2 separate regions of the Homo sapiens genome follow, and region 1 is linked to region 2. The links are contacts of gene promoters, found by promoter capture Hi-C in blood cells and fetal thymus (Javierre and others, 2016). All regions are on one chromosome and are shown on one strand. The core of a region is centred on a gene start or on the middle of the fragment in contact, and the rest is flanking DNA. Distances in the headings are between cores, read along the strand shown. Region 1 overlaps LOC105377727 (a long non-coding RNA gene). Region 2 holds the start of NEURL1B (neuralized E3 ubiquitin protein ligase 1B).

Region 1 (3,368 bases), core at 853-3,352, 110 kb after region 2:
GGTAGAAGAAGGGAGAAGCCATTTGTTTCAGGTTTCTGGCAATGGCTTTCAGCAGCAGCAGCAAACAACTGAGCATAACTGCAGGGGACTTCCAGTAGCATCGATGTAGCTGCATCTGCAGGAGTATGGCCCTGGGATTCCTACCCAGCTACAGTAAGGAGGTTTTAACAGCAGGAGCAGTGGCACCTCCAGCAGCTCAGTGGGGCATGTGGGCTCTCAGGCTCCAGCCCAGGGACTGGTGGCAGCTTCCTGTCCTGTAGAAAACAGCCTTATTCTTCCTTGTGAGTCTTCTCTCTTTTGCTTGTCAGCCCTTCCAACATCTTTGTAATGAATTCCCTGTATTAAATACCTACTGTTTGAAATATCTAGAGTGGTTTCTGATTTTGACTGTTATTGTGTTTCCTGATTCTTGATCCCCCCTAGATCTATTTTGTTCTGCCCACTTATCAAGCCTGAGTCTACAGCCTCCCATCAATTCTATGAGCCCTGATATGCCTTCTAAAAGTCCCCTTTCTCTTTAAAAGTCAATTTCTGCAGCTTCCAATCAAGAACCCTTACTCTAAACCATTAATTTGATTTTAGCTTGTAGGTTTACAAATATTAGATAAATAAAATAATAGCTAATATTTGCTGAGGCTTTTCTGTGTGTCTGGCACTATGCTCAATCATATCTGTTTTTTAATTTATTCCTCACAATAACTAGGTGAGGTAGATATTATTACCAGCACCATGTTGCATACACAAAATGGAGGTTGCTGCAAAGTTAAGTCATTTGATTTAACTTTTCTACAGCTTGGAACTGGTAGAACCAAGATTTGAACTAAATTCATCCAATGAAAGATCTCTCATTTTTAACTAATACAGTCTATTGCCTGGTAACACATTAAATATGCACTTCAATTATAAGATGCATTCTAATTTCAGAAACATAAACTCCCACACCATTCTAAAATACAGTATATACATACTAGTTTTCACTCTGGGAATTTGCTGGTGGGGCACTGCTGGCAAAAAAAAAAAAAAAAAAAAAAAAAAAGATGGAGTCATTTTCAAGCTTAGAAGCCAAGTTTCTCCTAAGCCAAAAATATTTCCATTAAATTCCTGTCATAGTGCCTGAAATTCCCACCATTCCATCTCCTTGCATTAGGGCATTCTATCCTCAGAAGTCCCTTGTGAAAGTGTGAACATGTTACTTGACAAGACAGTCAAAAGCATATTTTCTTCAATTGTCCAAAATATTCCCCCAGGAACTTCTTCTCCTGGTAACAAATCTTAGCCCCGTTTCCCATAAAGGCAGCACGTGATTCAGTCTGGACCAATCTTAGCATTCCATTCCCCTGGCCACTGACTGGTCCAGAGAAGGACATGTGACCCAAAGCGGGCCAATCAGAGATCTTCTCTGGGATTTTTTTTCTGACAAGATTTGCAGGAGAAACTCTTCTTGTCCCTTGGGCCATGGACCTGGAAGGGTATGAAGCCACAGAGCCCAGAGCTAGAGCCAAAGCCAGAGAAAAGGGCAAAGCTGGGAGTAGCGAGTGGCACATGAGGCCCTAAGACCAGCTCCATTCCCAGCCTTTCCTCAGACTGGCTATGAGGAGCCAATAATATCTTTTGGCGTAATCCCATTTGAGTTTGGTTTCTGTTCCTTGCAAACAACCTCACATCAGTTGGCTCCTACTGACACAAGCTCCTGAAATGGCAGAACACTGGACAGATAAATTTAGGAGAAAGGGAAGATATCAGGCATGGGCTTGAGGGGGGACAGGGCTGGAGGAGTGGACAAGACCAGGGACAAACCAAGCAGCCTCTCTACAAACTTTTGTGAGAACCTCAAAGCCAAACAGCAAGAAGTTCCATCAGCTAAAACCAGCTCCTCTACCAGCAGGTGTGATAAATGTGCAGGGTAACTTTCTTAAATACCTTCCCCTCTTTCCTATTCCATATGAAACAAGCATTCGTTGCAAGCTCCTTCTCTTTGAGCAGAAGCCCTGGAGTGAGGACACCTGGTCCAGCTCAGTTGCGTGCCCTGGATCCAACCACTTCCCCTCTTCAGAACTCACCGGAAAAACAGGAATAATGACTGCTTCCTTCCAGAGTCATTACCAGGATGAAGCAAAATAGCACACTGATGCGTTACACCCCAGGAGACTCTCAATATGTGGAGGTCATTTGGAGAGAAGGTTTCTCTCTAGGAAAGCTATCCCAGACACACAGAATGGGTGTGGGGAGCAGAAAAGTGCACAGGCTGACCTGAGACAGGTTCAGCCCAGCACCACAGAGTTGGGAGGTGTGTATTTTCTTATTTTCTGTATGCTTGATGCTCTGGCATCTGTGGCCCCACTGAGGGAGGAGAGACTGCCCTTCCCAGGGCTAGCCAGTTTTTAGAAATAGCAAACAAGTGTGCCTTCCTTACAAGCGTCCCTTCCATATGCATGTCAATCAATTTAGCCCAACTGGACTTTATCTTTTTTCCAACTACCCATCAAACTCTTCCCATATCAAGCCCCTTCTTCCCATATCCTCCTGCCCTAATCAATCCAGGGCCGAGTATCAGACTATGAGAGGCAGTCCCTACACCTGGGAGCCCACTGAAATTATTCAAACCGGCCAGTCCTAAACCTGCTTAACCTGTCTCACCCATTTTTTCCCATGGAAACCACAATCAATACTTTTGGACAACCCCTTCCCTCACTCCTTCTACCTCCTGCTGAACCTTGGCGCTTCCCCATGTGGCCTTGCACGGCGTGCGATGCCTCCTGTTTCTAGGGACCTAGAATGCTTTAAACAATTGCTTTTGCAAATTAAGACAATTTATAATATCCCGTGTGGAGGAAGGGGCGGAGAGATAGGTACTCCGGTGCCCTGCTGGAAGTTGTGTAAGTATAAACACTTCGTCCTTCGTGACAGTCGTGGGTCTTACCATACCTAATTTAGACAAATCCTGGGTACGTTTTAAAACAGAAGGTGTAAGTTCAAATCCCACCTGCCCTACTGCTCACCTGCAGTGGGACTAGGCCAAGCATTTCCTCTCTCTGAGCCTCAGTTACTGTATTGAGAAAAATAAGGGCAAGAATCATAACCACTTCGTGTGGCTCTTGGGAGGAATCATGGAAACCAGGAACAAAAGAAACCCCACACACTGTAAGCTTGAAACCACTGTGTCCGTATGAGCTAGTATTATGTAAGACTTCACCAGGAAAAGGGAGCAGCCCTGCTGAGCACAAGGAACAGGGGAGGCTTCAGGTTAAGGCCATAGATCGAGATGGGGCCCCATAGGTAGAGATGGTTAAGGCCATAGATAGAGATGGCCCCATAGATAGAGATGTTTAAGGCCATGGATAGAGATGGCCCCACAGATAGAGATGGTT
Region 2 (3,228 bases), core at 663-3,162:
AGTGGGTAACCAACCTTAACTGCCGGCTCCCAGACTAGGGTGGCCCAGTCCACAGAGAGAGAGTTGAGAGGGATGGAGAATACATAAATCTCTAGCTATATTTAGCCTGCCTGGCGTGTGTCTGTCCCTTTACGCACCCCAGGGCTGACCCACAGGTGGCAGAATGGCTTTTTACTAGAATAGTATAAACATTTTTAAATTAAGAAACCAAGGAAAGGGGCCTGTGCCGAGGTGCCTCATCCCAGTGTCTATGTGGCGAGAATATCTGCTGCCCTATTTGCCAACATCCCCAGATATCTCCTGACCCGCGGGTGGGTTCTCCCCCAACCTGGCAATAGCCCTGTCCACAGGAGGTAGAGGCCACCCTCCAGTAAGCAGACCTGGGTTCTAATCCCACCTCTGCCACTGACTAGCTGGTGACTCTGCTGATGATTACAGCTCTCTGGGAATTTGAACGTTTGAGTGCAGTTGCTCAGAGGCTTGTAAAGTAGGAGTTGGCTCCTCTTCCATAAGCTGACCCTGGGAATCCTGGGCTCAGCACTGTCCACTTCAACCCGCTCCAGGGGAAATTATTCTTTAAGAGCATGTAATGCCTAGAAGGGAGAGCTATATGGGAGTGTTATAGCAGAGATGGGGTGATATGTCCCTCTTCCAGAACCTCACACTAAATTAACCTCACAGCTGACTTGCTTCCCCATTGAGCCGAGCCTTTGTGCTTTAGACACACACACACTCCTCTCACCTTTTGCCCAAAGGATGCTACAAAGGCCCAGCCTTAAGACAAAATACTTCTAAATACTTGGGCGTGTGAGGGGAGGGAGGGCAGAGAGACACAGGTCCCACTCCAGATTCTCCCACTACTAGCTGTGTGACCTTGGGTGAGTCATTTCACCTCTTCTGACACTCAATTTTTTTATTTGTAAAACTGGGATACACATCTTTATCGCGAAGCTTCTTTGCATACCGAGCTGGGGTATGCAAAGTGCTGGGCACTGAACCTCCACGGGCACGCGCGGGCGCGGGACCGCTGATCTGTTCCCACAATTACCATGTATTTTCCAGTAAGGCCTCCTCCTACCCCGTTAACCTGCTCCGGATCCCCTCACTCCGGTCCCAGAAATTCTGGGGCGATTTTAACTAGGGGGCGATGCGATCTGCAGCAGCGACTCCGAGGGGGCGAAGGAGTCCCCAGTGGAGCGGACACCAGAGGGGGGCGCAACCGGGGTGCGCGTGGGAACGTGGCCAAAGCACGGCAGCATGTGCCGCGGGGGCGCTGGGAGGCTGGAAACTGGGGTGCCCCTGAGAGCACCCCTCACTCTCGGCAGCTGCAGTCTTGGCACCACGGGTGGCTTCTGACCGTCGGAAGCCCTGGCGAGCCCGGCTCCAGTCACCCCCACCCAGGTCGCCTTGAGTTTGCTCATCAGCGCCCTCGGGCTGGAACAAAGGCGAGGGGGCGCGCGGCATCGCCCCAGCGGCCCTTTTTGCGCATCTGGCCAAAGCCGGGAGAATGAGGACTGGGGTCCCCAAGGTAACCAGGACGCGGTACCCGCCCTCCCGGGGCGCAAAGCCCAGCCGCGGGGCGCGCGCCGAGCTGAGGTCCGGGAGGTACCGGAGACTCCAGCCCGCTGCGAGCCGAGGGCTCCAAGGGCCGTGGGGTAGCTCTCCAGAGTCACCCAGCGGGTCCCCCGGAGGAGAGAAGCCCGGCGCCCGCCTCCCGGGCAGGGCTCCCCGGCGTACCTGGCAGGGTCCGGTGCACCGTGTTGCCCATCGCTGCGTCGGGCGCGGCGTTGGCGGCGGCGCGCTCTGGGCGCGCGGAGGCTAATTACGCGGCGGGCCAGGGACCAGGACCGGGGTCGACGCTCCGGGGCATCGCAGCTGCACGGGCGAGCCGGCGGGCGGCAGCTGGGGCGGGAGCCGGGAGGGAGGCGGCGGCGGCGCCTGCGGGAGGAGGAGGCGGAGCCACCGGCCCGGGCCCGCCGGCTCCGCCCCCGCCTCCCACCGCCTCCAACAGTGCAGGGGCGGGGCCGCGGCCGCCGCATCTTTTGAAAGTTTGCACCAGGCGGCGGGAGAAGCACAGCCAAGCCTCCCGCCCTCGCCGCTCCCGCGCCCGGGCCGGGAAGGCGCGCAGGGCAGCTGGGTGCCCTCGGGTGCCAGGATCGGCAGTCTGCTGGCCTGTCACCCATTTGTTCTAACACTTTGAGAAGGCCCACTGTGTGCCAGGCCCTCTTCCAGGCGCGGGGCCCCAGCCGGCCGAGTCCTAGCCCCGGCAGACCTCTTTGGAGAGTGCTTCGGCCCCGGGGGAACTTACACAGAGGCAGACGGGCCCCTGGGACCATGTAAAGGGCTTGGAGACAGTACACCCAGGGTTCCCGGGTTTGGGTGGAGTCTTTTCTATCCCCTAGGCCAGGTACCGAGGAATAGAAGAAACCCAGTGTCCAAAGATTGGGAAGAGGGAACCCACATTCATTAATTTATTCGCTCATTCACTAAAATATTTATTGAGCACAGTCTATGCACCAGGCACTGTGCTGGGCCGGGTAGATACAGACAAGGTCCCCACTGCCCTGGAGATGGCATGCTGAAGATAGAAATAACAAGCAATTACGATCACATTATATAATAATCAAAGCCAGGAAGAAAATAAAACAGATCCCAGTAGAGTGAGGAGATGACATTGTTTGGGGGCATAGGGAGAATCTGGGGTGGGGGCACATAAGCTCCATCTGATGGACTAGAAGGCGTCGGCCATGAGAAGAGATAGGTAGAGTGTTCCTGGCAGAGGCAGTAACAGGCATTCCTCATTCAGGCACCTGGACCACACTCAGTGGGAAGTGCAGCTGTGCCCTTCTCGAGCTCCATTTCACAGGCTGGAACGCTGAGGCCCAGGAAGTGCAATGACTTCCCCAAGAAGACCCGATTCCAAATGAGCTGTTTTTTTCAATTCTATTTTTCATGCTCTTGTATCCCTTGAGACTTTATGAAATATGTATTATTACTTCCATTTCACAGATAGGGAAATTGAGGCTCTGAGAGTGGAAGAGAGGTGCCCAAGATCTTCCAATGGTACAGGGCAAAGCTAGCCTGAAGCTATGCGAATAAAAGCGGGGTATTCAGGAGACAGCCTTCTGCATCTCCGGTGCCTTCTGCTTACAGTACATGACCCATCCCAGAGGGTTCTAGGGTCTTTAAGGCCAGCTCCAAGCTTCCACTTCCGGGAAACCTTGATTC

The links. The method cuts DNA at HindIII sites, captures the fragments that hold promoters and counts their contacts. A CHiCAGO score of 5 or more calls a contact.
Region 1: a fragment that was not itself captured here is called in contact with the fragment with the promoter of NEURL1B in region 2 in 1 of 17 cell types (endothelial precursors); the score reaches 5.2 in endothelial precursors.

The regions. Positions count from the first base shown.
Region 1 is chr5:172,526,528-172,529,895 of GRCh38, reverse strand. The region is part of intron 1 of LOC105377727 (a long non-coding RNA gene); the gene reads right to left. Among named protein-coding and RNA genes, the nearest start is that of LINC01944, 31 kb to the left of the region's middle. The HindIII fragment of the contact is 2,092 bases long and covers 1,057-3,148 here.
Region 2 is chr5:172,639,947-172,643,174 of GRCh38, reverse strand. It overlaps NEURL1B (neuralized E3 ubiquitin protein ligase 1B), which reads right to left and starts at 1,912. Exons shown (of 5, transcript NM_001142651.3): 1 at 1,738-1,912. The coding sequence starts at 1,768. RefSeq lists a silencer at 1,861-2,150. The HindIII fragment of the contact is 2,251 bases long and covers 954-3,204 here.